Regions from separate parts of the Homo sapiens genome. Here region 1 is linked to region 2. The links are contacts of gene promoters, found by promoter capture Hi-C in blood cells and fetal thymus (Javierre and others, 2016). All regions are on one chromosome and are shown on one strand. Each heading gives the region's core, a stretch centred on a gene start or on the middle of the fragment in contact. The rest is flanking DNA. Distances are from core to core; before and after follow the strand shown. Region 1 overlaps LOC105371348 (a long non-coding RNA gene). Region 2 holds the start of BCAR1 (BCAR1 scaffold protein, Cas family member).

Region 1 (6,068 bases), core at 699-3,198, 520 kb before region 2:
CCCTTTGTCCCTCATCTCTCCATTTAGAGTCATTTAGGGGAAATTTTCTTGCCGGGCAAATGAGTACATCCCAGGGTCAAAATGGGAAATGAAAGAGACTTAAAATACTTTTATTTCAGCTCTAGTGAGACTGAAAAGCAACTGACTCATGCAAAATTTGATAATTACATGTGGTTTCTTTATTTAACAGCTATCATTATGCCATTATGTATCAGACTATAATCTACTCAGAGTTTTCTTTCCTAATATTTGGAACTGATAAGTGAAAATGACAGCATTCCATGAGGAGGTATTTCACATTCTCCTTATTTCAGCAGAAGCATCTCTTCCATATTCTACAATTCCTTCAAGTTCTAATGAATTGTTTATGTATAGAGTGAAATAATATATTTTGTCCAATAATTGTATAGCTGATAATTTTATAAGTAGTAGTTTTTGTGAGTTGTTAACCCCCCACCATGGATGACAACAGCAGCAACAAAACTCTACGTACTCAGACATAAAATGTAGCCAAATTTTATTTAGAAACTTTTGCCTGGGCCTGGATTGGTGGCTCATGCCTGTAATTCCAACACTTTGGGAGGCCAAAGCAGGAGGATCACTTGAGGTCAGGAGTTCAAAACCAGCCTGGGCAACAAAGTGAGAACCCCATCTCTACCAAAAAAAAATAATAAATTTAATTTAATTTTTTAAAAATGTCTGGGTGTGGTGGCACACACCTGTAATCCCAGTACTTAGGAAGGCCAAGGTGGGACAATTGAGCTCAGGAGTTTGAGACCAGCCTGGACAACATAGCAAAACCCCATCTGTATGAAAAAAAACAAATGTTAGCTGGGCATGGTGGCATGTGCCAGTGGTTCCAGCTACTCAAGAGGCTGAGATGGGAGGATCACTTGAGCCCAGAAGGTCAAGGCTGTAGTCAGCCATGATAGGACCACTGCACTCCTCCAGCGTGGGCAACAGAATAAGACCCTGTCTCAGAAAAAAAAATTAAAAAGGAAGAAACTTTTGCATTTTAATAATTTTAGTGTTTAATTTATAATTCTTTTTAATTATCCATGACTTTTCAATGTAAAACAATATATTTTCATTATGCAATTATTTTTAATCTACTATAAATAATTAGAATAGGTTAAAGACAAAAATCTACTTAACATTAAAATACTAAAAATTTAAATATTGGAAGGTATTATAAAACTTGTGTAAAGTGCTCTAAAGCTTAAGAGTAATACACTTACAAACAAATAACTTGATAGTAGCAGCATGTAGATTTTCAGATACAAGATTTCTTTCTTTTTTATGGTTTCTCTCCTCTTTTTCAAGGATTATAATAACATATATGTTAGACCTTTCATTCTCTCTTTGGTCTTTTATCTTCCATTACTTTGCCTCTTCCTTTCTCTATTGGTATATTTCTTAGATTTATCCTCCAAATTGCTAATTTTCTCATTTCAGCTACATCTAATCTGTTGTTAAATTCATCCATTGAATTTTTAATATTCAGTTACTGCATATTTCAGTTCTAGACTTGGTATTCAATCCTTTTTATTGGATTGAATAAAAAATCCAATTACTGGAATAAAAATTCCAGTTCCTGTTTAAATGTTCTATTTGATCATTTAATTTCTTGAACATTTTACATTATTTGTAAAGTCTTTACATTGTTTGTTAAAGACTATTAAAGACTTTACATTATTTGTAGTCTTTGTCTAGCTGTGATCTTCAATATTCATCTCTCCAGTTTTGTGAAACTGGCAAATGTTCTGCTCGGATGCTGGCTACTGCTTTCTGCTCTGGTTTTCAGCTGAAATCTCCAGCTCCTGCTTTCTCTATCAGCAAATGCGTTGAAGATATAAGTTATGCCAAATATTGAGCTCAAATCCTAGGATTACCTTCTTTCTGGGAATTTGTTTCATCAAATCTTTACTGCTTTGGTAGCTCTGCTATCCCATCAAAAACTCATAGTTCTTCCTTCTTTTATAGTTGTTTTCAGTGGAAGGGCTGCTCCAACACTATATAGCCATGTTTCTTTCTTTCTTTCTTTCAGAAGAAGAAGAAGAGGAGGAGGAAGAAGAAGAGGAGGAGAAGGAGAAGAAGATAGTGACAAGGATAGCAAATGCAAACCTAAGAGACAAAGAAATTCAACTACTAGAAGGACCACAGGCAAAATTGTGATATGGGATTATCTTCCTCTAATGTCATTTTACTTCCCTTTTTTTCACCATTACTTACATCTGTCATTTTCTTTCTACTGGGACCCAATGTCTTGTACATTCTAACTTCTTGGAAGTCTAAATCAAACTAGGAATCAGGAAGAAGATGATCATAGACAGCAAAAAATTACACATATATTGCATTATTTTACTCATCAGGAAAAGGCCTGTGAAATAAGTATTTATGAAATCACAGGAAGAGCTGAAGTAGAAGGACATCTACAGGCTCTTCTTAGTAGTCATCAAAATATACCTGGTAAGCAGCTACCTACCTAGAGATAAGATACCTCCTACCTTACAGTTCACTGGGATTCTATTAGAATTTATTTTTCACTCTGCATTACCTTTTTTGGTAATCTACTATATATCAGTGATATAGAAATTAACTGTATTCTTTTTAACCCCAAGAGTTTTCTCTTTGACTCAAAAGATATATGGCCTCTTGTGGTCTCCAATCAAAGCTTCTATTGGATATTTTATTTAGTGTAAGATTTCTTTCTACATATTCCCATTAATGCTCCCATTCACTCTCCATTTCCTGATCAGCACCTTTTTTTAACCACTGGATAGTTTATGTAAGTAAGACAGTGTTCTACACTCTACAAAAATAAAGTTAATTGAAACTTTGTATATTTTAAACTTGTTTTACTTCCTTTGGAATCTAATACATAACCCATATTCTGGAGGATAATGAATCAATTTATTTTGATTTGGTTCTCTGGTTGCAGTAATAATGTAAATTCAGGGGGGAAATGTAAATAAAAATTGAAAGCAACAAAAACAAATTTTCTGAATTATAGTAAAAATGCAGAATTAAATATGTCTTAAATGTTTAAACATCTTAGTGTATCTCAGTTGGAAGAAAAACAACCTCTGTGAGAACAGAAAGAAGATGACTAAAGAGCAGTGTGGTCTGAGAAGGATTCTAAGGTTGTTTTTTATCTTTAAAAAGAGGGGTTGGCAAAATATGATCCTTGGGCCAAATCCAGTCTGTGACTTTTCTATACATAATGTTTTATTGAAACACAGCCATTTATTTATATACTTACAATGGCTATTTTTGTACTACAATGGCAGTGTTGAGTAGCTGTGACAAACACAATCTGAAGCACAATACCTAAAGCATTTACAATTGGTACCTTTCTAGGAAAGATTTGCAGACCCCTGCTGAAGAAAATCTTGATGGTGGTAACATCAGCAAAAATGGCAGAGCAGGGACCCTCAAAAATTCACCCTTCCATAAAAGCAATGAAAAAATTATTTAAATGGTCAGAATTACCTTTTTCAGATCTCCAGAAATGAATCAAAAGATTTTGTGTGACTGAAGTGGATGTAGAAATTTAAAAAAAAAAAAGAATTAAAAGCTTCCCATGACCTGGGGAGAGTTTACTCAAGAAAAATGGCTGGATGGCTGTAAGAAAAGTTAGCTTTGTGACATTTTAACTTTCCCTGGTCCCACCCCCCACTCTCTAGCTCAGAAAAAGCCTTGAAAAATACTCATCTGCATTGCTGGTGCTGCCTAGCAGTCATCAGTGGGACCAGAATAGAGATGAAGCTCTTTCAAAGTATAATTCCCAAAATATTATCTCTTTTTTTTTTTTATTGAGACACAGTCTTGCTCTGTCGCCCAGGCTGGAGTGCAGTGGCACGATCTTGGCTCACTGCAAGGTCTGCCTCCCAGGTTCACGCCATTCTCCTGCCTCAGCCTCCCGAGCAACTGGGACTACAGATGCCTGCCAGCACACCCAGCCAGCTTTTTGTACCTTTAGTAGAGACAGGGTTTCACCATGTTAGCCAGGATGGTCTCGATCCCCTGACCTCGTGATCCACCTGCCTTGGCCTCCCAAAGTGCTGGGACCACAGGCATGAGCCACTGCACCCAGCCAATATTATCATTTCTTATTTGTCTGGTGGTTCTCTTGAAAAACTCATTAAGAGGCTGCCTTGGAGCTCACTCACTTCAGAGGATTTCTGTCAGGTGATGTTATTTTTGGAGACAATTACAGGCAAGTGTTTTAACTTTGTGGCTGCCTGAGGAGATTAACAACAGCTGAGGCAAACAAAGGACTAACCAAAAACCTTGAAAATAAAATAGAAGTTTGAAAATAAGATGTCTAGAAGGACATCAGAAGGCTCTGACAAAATCTCAGGGATCTAAATGACCATGTGTACTCCCAGGATAGTACACAAGCTCAGGGAAGACCTGGAAAGGCCCTCAGCTCTCATCTCTGCTTACCTTGAGGATCTATGTAGGCAGTAAGAAAAGGCTTAGATGGAGTTACAAGCTGCCTAAGTTTTGAGGACATGACCCAACATGCACAGAGAGCCCTTCAGCAAATGAAAGATTTATTGATTCCAGACCTCTAAGGAAACCTGTCTAATTACTAGCTAACCACTAAGCTAACTGAGTAGTGGCATCAATGCCCATACATGACAAAGAATACAAACTTTACTGAATTGCCTTAGAAATGTAAGTAAGAGCCGGGCGCGGTGGCTCATGCCTGTAATCCCAGCACTTTGGGAGGCCGAGGTGGGTGGATCACAATGTCATGAGATCGAGACCTTCCTGGCTAACATGGTGAAACCCTGTCTCTACTAAAAATACAAAAAAATTAGCTGGGCATGGTGGTGGGCACCTGTAGTCCCAGCTACTCAGGAGGCTGAGGCAGGAGAATGGCGTGAACCCGGGAGGCGGAGCTTGCAGTGAGCCAAGATCGCACCACCGCACTCCAGCCTGGGCAACAGAGCAAGACTCTGTCTCAAAAAAAAAAGAAACGTAAGTACGCAAACAGGTAACAATAACCAATAAGCAACAATAAAAACAAGCCATGGACATGTAGGAAAATCTGATTTCCAAACTTGCCACATAATACCTATTAAAATGTCCAGGTTTCAATAATGTAAAAAATTATAAGTCATGCAAAGAAATAAAGTACTGCCAACACACATACATAAAAATAAACAATCAATAGAATTTGTCCTAAAGGAAGCCCAGATATTGGACTTACTAGAAAAGACTTTAAATCATTTAGTCTAAATATGCCCAAAGACCAAAAGGAGAGTGTGCCTAAAGAAGTATGAGAACAATGTCTAACCAAACAGAAAACATCAATAAAGAGATGGAAATTATAAAATTCAACTTTAAAATAAAAGTTATAAAATTGAAAAGCTTAATAACAGAAAAGAAAAATTCACTACAGGTTCTCAGTAACAGATATGAAAAGACATAAAAAATCAACAAATTTCAAAATTGGTCAATTGAAATTATCCAGTCTGAGGAACAGAAAAGAAAAAGAACAAAGAAAAATGAACAGAGTTTCAGAGACCTGTGGGAAATTACTGAAAGTACCAATATATATGTAATGGGAGACCCAGAAGGAGAGGAGAGAAATGTCAAGAACCAATATTTGAAGAAATAATGCTTGTAAACTTCCCAAATTTGTTGAAAAATATTGGTTTGCACACATGAACTTCAAGTGTAATAAACTAAAAAGATTCATACCTCAATACAACATAATCAACCTCTTAAAGAATGAAGATGAAAAAACTTGGTATCAGCAAGTAAGACATGATTCATATACAATGGCTTCTCAGTAATATTAATAGCTGTTTCCCATTAGAAATCAAGGAAAAGAGAACATAAGACAATAGGATGACATATTCAAAGCAGTGAAAGTAAAAGACTGTCAATCAAGGAGTCTATATAGAGCAATACTATACTCCAAAATTGAAGGGGAAATTAAGACATCTCCAGATTTTTTTTAAAAAACCAAGAGAATTCATTGCTAGCACAGCTGTCCTGCAAGAAATACTAAAGGAGTTCTTTTAGGCCTAGATGAAAGTTATTTGGCAGTA
Region 2 (5,912 bases), core at 2,837-5,336:
GTTTTTTGTTTTTTTTTTTGAGATGGAGCCTTGCTCTATCGCCCAGGCTGGAGTACAGTGGCGTGATCTCAGCTCACTGCTTCACCTCCTGGTTCAAGCAATTATCCTGCCTCAGCCTCCTGAGTAGCTGGGATTACAGGTGCCCGCCACCACGGCCAGCTAATTTTTGTATTTTTAGTAGAGACGGAGTTTCGCCATGTTGGACAGGCTAGTCTCGACCTCCTAAAGTGCTGAGATTACAGGCGTGAGCCACCTTGCCCAGCCTTGCCTTGGTTTTGAGCTTGCCACTGTGAGTGTCCAGCCTAGGGGGATGGTGTCAGCTCTCATTGGCCCTCCAGAGATACCGTTTCTTCCTGTTCCTGGGGCTGGCAGTGCTCACCTCCGGCCTCAGGAAATCCTCTCCTGCTGCCGCTCCCAGAGCTGGCCATCAACCGAGTCCACCCTCCCTGCTGCTGGGAGGCCGAGGCTTCAGGAGGGGAGGGGGCTGTGTGCCTTTACACTGTGCAAACTGGTTTTAGCCTGCTCTTTTCACTTTAGTTTGTTGTAAGCATTTTCTTGCATTATTTCAGTCTTTGGAAGAGGCCATCTAATAGCTGCAAGCTATTCTACTGAGGCGCTGTGGTTTGTCTCACCGGTCCCCTAGAATTAGCATTGATAGGTGAGCCTGTTTTGCTCCATGCTTTGCTGTCATAAATGCTGCAGTGGACATTGGTGAGCATTGAGCAAGAAAAGTTCTGTGCAGTGGGTCTGTCCTGAAGGCAGATCTCAGAAAGCCCAAAGAGCAGGAACCCTATCCCAGGCTTATCTTTCCACTTGGGTCCAGTATAACCCCCTCCACTCCAGACACTTAGTGTCCTGGTGTGCTGGGTCCACCTGTTTTCTGTACAAACAGCTATTCCAGGCCCTGAGGGGTTGGAGACATCCCTTCCAGCCTGTGAGCTCATCTTCAACCTGGCTGGAGGTGCCAGGCCACTCCTGGGATGACACAACTGTCTGGGAGGGCCCTGTGCTGGTGCCCCGGCCACATATCTGCAGCTGTCTCCCTTGGTCTGGCAACAACCTCTCCCAGCTCCTCCTTATTCAGGGCGTCTCTCCTTGCTGCCAGTCCCACTGTGTGTATACGCATGCGTGTGTGCTGTGTGTATGCAAGTGTGTGCCTCTGCACTTAGGCGTGACTTAACCACCCCCATCCTCCAGACTGGGGCAGCCTCAGATTTCTTCACCCAGGCCAGCCTATCCCATGAGGGCCACCTCTGAGGTCCCACCCAGTCAACAAATGTTTACTGCACCCCTTCTCACCAATGGGGCTAAACTTAGTGGGGTGGGGGTGGTGCTGGCCCCAGTGCTGAGCTCAGTTTTACTGGGGAGGAAGGTGCTTAGGTCTCAGTTGCCTGTCCTTTTGCAGTCTGAGTGTGACAGGGGTGTTTGGCTTTCTGAGCCTGGAGTGCTGCTGTCCCTGTCCCTAGATTCCCTTCCTGCTGCAGGGTGGGCTGAGGTCTAGCAGCCCCATTTCTTCCCTGGCCCTGTCCCTTCTGTGCCCCGAAATGTGTGGGATGGGGCAGTGGTTGGTAAACTGGGTCTCGGTCTCTTCATGTGAAAAATGGGGCTAGGCTGGGTGCAGTGGCTCACGCCTATAATCCCAGCACTTTGGGAGGCTGAGGTGGGTGAATCACTTGAGGTCAGGAGTTCGAGACCAGCCTGACCAATATGGTGAAACCCCATCTCAAAAAAAAAAAAAATTGGGGCTAACGGTGAGCCTGTTTTGCAGGATTGCTGTGTGCACAAAATAAATGCATGGGCATAGGGCCCCTGGCACTGGCTGGGCGCAGAGGCTGTGCTGGGTATGTGGGGCTGCATCCCTGTCCTTGACAGCGGAGGTCCGGGAGGCTGGACTGGGGGTGGGGTGAGGTTCTGCCCCCATATACCCCGGCCAGAGCCTGGCCAGTGGGTGCTCCTCCCCCACCCCCCAGCTACATCCCCATCAACACTGTGGGGCTTAACTTCTGGGGCCTTGTTTCCAAAGCGGAAATGCCATTCTGGGAGGCACAGGCTTTTGGGGGAGGGAATTTAAGTGGAAAAGGAGCAAATTTTTGAAATGCCTGTGTCGGAGCCTGTTTCCCTTGCTGCCTCCTGCTCACACCAGCAGCCCCACCCCCAGTGCTGTTCTAATGCAGCTACTGGGGGAGGAGGGTCTCATCCCCCAAGGTTCCAGCCATCCACCTCCTCTCTGCACCGCCCTCCTTGGCCAACTAGGATGGAGCAGGGGCCAGCTCCCTTGAGGGCCAGGCCTTTTGTGTCCTTGCCCGTCCCTGCAGAGACTGCTGCCTGGGGCCCTGCCAGCAGGGCACTGCCTGCCCATGAGGCCTGGTCTCCCCTCCCCACAGAAGTGGAGGCCCAGGGATGACCTCAGGCTCCTGAGGGTCCCGCTGGTTCAGACCTGCTCTCTGGGAAGCTGGTGTGCCAGCCAGGCTGAGGAGTGGGTGGCTGGACAGGGTCAGGGTGCAGGAGGGGCCCGGCACAGCTCTTGGGAACAAGCAGGAGGAGATGCTCCAGGCAGCTTCCCTGAAGGCTGGCTCCTCTTCTGAGGCGAGGCGGGCTGTGTCGGGGAGGCACAGGGTGTTGGCTAGCTGTTCTGTTCCTCCTGAGGACTCTGGGTCATGCTCTGTCTCATCCCACTGCTCCTTCCTCACCCGCTGTGCTGTGAGTTCTGGCCAATGCTTCCCAAGCCAAATATTGAAGAAATGCAGACGTCCAGTTTTTTGGGAGGGGTGGGACACAGGAGTCTGTTTTTTAACTAGCTCCCCAGAGCACCTGAGCAGCAAATCATGGGCTGTCCTAGCCCCTTTTCAGATGAGAAAGGAGCCCAGAGAGGGGAGAGGGCCTGCCAAGGTGGCACATCTGGCCAGGCGCTGCGTAGGCTGAGCCCTGGGGGTCAGACAGAGGGGCAGCTGCAGGCCCACCTGGGCTTGTGTCTTCCATAGGCCATGCTTGAGAATTCTCTGCTGCGTGAAGCCGGGTCTACCCCGCTGCTTCCCTGCCACCAGGGCTGCCTCGTGGCATCCCATTGCTCAGCCAGTGGCCCAGGATTGTTGACTGAGGGTCCTGTCTGGTCTGGACCAGGCTCGGTCCTATCATCTCCCTGCAGATTGTGCCTCCCTGGCCTGGCCCAGGGGCTCTGGCACCCTGGTTCTGCTGCATGGGGTGACAGTCACTGACCTGCAACCGAGCAAGGGGCAACTCAGGAGAGCCAAGGTTGTCTCCACTCGGTTTCCCCCGAGTGATTCTTCCTTCTATCTCCCTCATTCCCCCAGTGCCGCTCTCCTACCCCATGTCGCTGAAGCAGATGAGTTGGAGCAGGACTCAGGAGGGTACTAGGCCCAGGTTTTAGGCTGAACCTAGGAATGAGTAATGAGAGGAGGCAGATCAGCTGGAGGACCAGCCCGAGTCCCCAGATGTCGGCACAATGCAGGGGAAGGTAGGTGCTGCCCGTGAAAAGCGCTGGGTCGAGAGCTCGCCAGCCTCCCTGCTTGAGGCTTCATTTCCTGGGGTCCTTACACGGTGGGACCGTCTACAGTCGGAGCTGTGGTGGTGATGATTCGTCTCCTACAGGCTGGGGCACGCCCCCTCCCCTTTCCCTCTAGATTCAGATTTGAGTCCCACGGCCCATGGACACGCGATGAATGCCCTGGGGTTGGTTAGCGGGAAAGACAAGTCGACTTGAGGCCATGTCTCGGCTCTGGAGGAAGAAGGCAAACCGGGCAGCCTTCCCAGAAGTGGAGGAGTTTGCGTAGGCCTTCGGTGCGTTCTCGCCTGGGTGGAAGGCGGGGACGTGCATTTGTTGGAGAGCGGTGTCCTGCGCCCTAGGCTGGAAGCCTGGCCTCGGGCAGGGGCCTGGAGCCTCGGGGTTGGAGGTGGGGGGCGGGGCGGGGGGCGGCCCCTACTGGGCGGGCTTCTGTCTGCGCGCCCGCGCCCCCGACAGGCGGCTTATTTGCATGGAGAGCGGCGGCGGCCAATGGGCGCGCGCGGCCGGGCATGCTGGGATCGGGCTGGGCCGGCTGGGCCGTGGCGGCAGGCGGAGAGCGGCTGGACCGGCTCTGGGTGGCCGAGGCGGCAGCTGCGCGGCGGCACCGGGGCGGCTGCGGCGCGCTCGGAGCCCCGAGGGCACGCGGCCCGGGCAGCTCGGTGTGCGCCCCCGCGAGAGCCGGGGCCCCAGGCCCGCCGGACACCATGAACCACCTGGTGAGGGCGCCAGGTGGGGCCGGGCCGCGTACGGGCTTGGAGGCGGCAGCGGGCTGGAAGGGGTTAAGCGAGCGGCATTTCCTGCCGGACCTGCGGGGCCTGGGAACCGCCGGCCGGGGTCCGCGGCCCTGGGATCTCCTTCTGCCCTGGCCGGGAAGCCGGGAGGCAGGAACCGCGGGGGCTCCGGAGCCTGTGCGCCTCGGGTGCGTTGGCGGGGCCGGGCGCGGGGGCCGCCAGCCGGTAGGAGGGTTCCTGTGTCGGGAAAGTGGCTGGCGGGGCCCGCGCTCCCCGGCCGACGGCCGCCTGCTGTGTCACCTTGGGCCTCTGCGCCCTGCCTCCGAGCCTCAGTTTCCTCGGCTGCGAGGAGGGGCCGTTGAGCCTCTGGCGGGTGGTCCGGCTGGTGTGGCGTGGGGACTGCCCACCGGCTCCCGGAGAGGGAGGAGCTCCGGGGGACCGAGGCCGGGCGGGCAAGTGCGTGGCGCCAGCGGGGAAGGCTGCGCAGCCGGAGCACCCGGCTCCAGTTAATGATTCACTCCGGCCGCCGGCGCGGGGTTCCGGGAGCGGAGCGGGAGTGGGGGCGGGCGCGCCGCGGGCTTTGCAGCCCCGCACGCCGAGCGCCGGTGGAAGCCGGGTCCTGGCCACAGGAGTCCTAGCCGCACGCGAGTGTCGCGGGAGGGGGCCAGGGCCGGGTTCTGCAGTGTGGACATGAAGGCTTTGGAGTCCATGGTTGGGGGACCCGCAAGAGCTAGAGCAGGGTCGGAGCTCCCTCTCGAGGGTCCGAGAGGCTGATCGCTGGACCGAGGTGAGGGAGTTGGGAAAGCGGAGATTTGCCTAGGGGTGCGGGGTGAGGGGCTTACGGCCTGGAAGATGTTGGGGTTTCGAGTTCCAGATCGGGGACAGCAGCTCCTTTTCTACCACAAGGCTCCCGTTCCCTCCTGAGAGTCCCTGGTTTCCTTTCCCACACCCCTCCCGGGGCCCGCCGCAGCTTTGGTCACCTTCTCAGAATGACCATGGGTTGATCTCTTCTTTGCTAGTGAGATGTTTCCCATCGCCCTGGGCCGGGACACGCCCCCTCTTGTGCCCATTCCTTTCCCTCGGTGGAGAGTTGGGTGGTGGGGGCTGGCCGGCCTGTGAGAGCAGGTGTCGGGGTGCCTGGAGAATCGGGGCCCAGGTACGGGGGTGGCGGGGCTGTGGGGAAAAGAGCTTTGGGGAGGAGCTGCTGACACTTCCTCCTGGCACTGCTTGCCCGGGAGCTGGGTGGAGGCAGGGCAGGGCAGGGCAGTCCCAGGTTCTGCCAGGAAAGTCACCTTGGGCTGGGGCAGGAGGCTTGGAGCTTCTGGCCGTTACTGTTTGTCTGAGCAGGAGGGTGAGCACTGTGTACTGGTACCATGGCCCCAGGTCTAGGCGAGGGATGGAAATAAGGACAGTGCCACTAGGGCCTCCTGTCTGTACAGGAGGGGCCCTGAGACAGCTCCTCAAACCCCTTTCCCATTATACGGATGGTGCAGATGGGGACACTGAGGTACAGAGAGACAGTCAGTTGTCCTCAGAATTGGATCCAGAACCTCGTCTTCTGGCATGGCCCCCCAGTGCAGCACCACATGTGGCCTCCGAATTCCCAGTCTGGGATTGGGGGAGCTCTGGTCCTTGGGGGACCACCATGCTCTTTTGGA

Evidence for each region. Contacts are between HindIII fragments. The CHiCAGO score rates a contact against its expected background, and 5 or more counts as called.
Region 1: a contact is called between a fragment that was not itself captured here and the fragment with the promoter of BCAR1 in region 2, in 2 of 17 cell types (total B cells and naive CD8 T cells). The highest score is 6.1, in total B cells.

Annotation. Positions count from the first base shown.
Region 1 is chr16:75,768,423-75,774,490 of GRCh38, reverse strand. All of the region lies in intron 2 of LOC105371348 (a long non-coding RNA gene), which reads right to left. Among named protein-coding and RNA genes, the nearest start is that of CPHXL, 45 kb to the right of the region's middle. The HindIII fragment of the contact is 1,456 bases long and covers 1,221-2,676 here.
Region 2 is chr16:75,249,798-75,255,709 of GRCh38, reverse strand. It overlaps BCAR1 (BCAR1 scaffold protein, Cas family member), which reads left to right and starts at 4,086. Exons shown (of 7, transcript NM_014567.5): 1 at 4,086-4,239. The coding sequence starts at 4,228. RefSeq lists enhancers at 1-91, 92-632, 1,172-1,712, 1,713-2,252, 3,334-3,874 and 1 more and silencers at 3,874-3,983, 4,044-4,203. The HindIII fragment of the contact is 27,287 bases long and covers 1-5,912 here.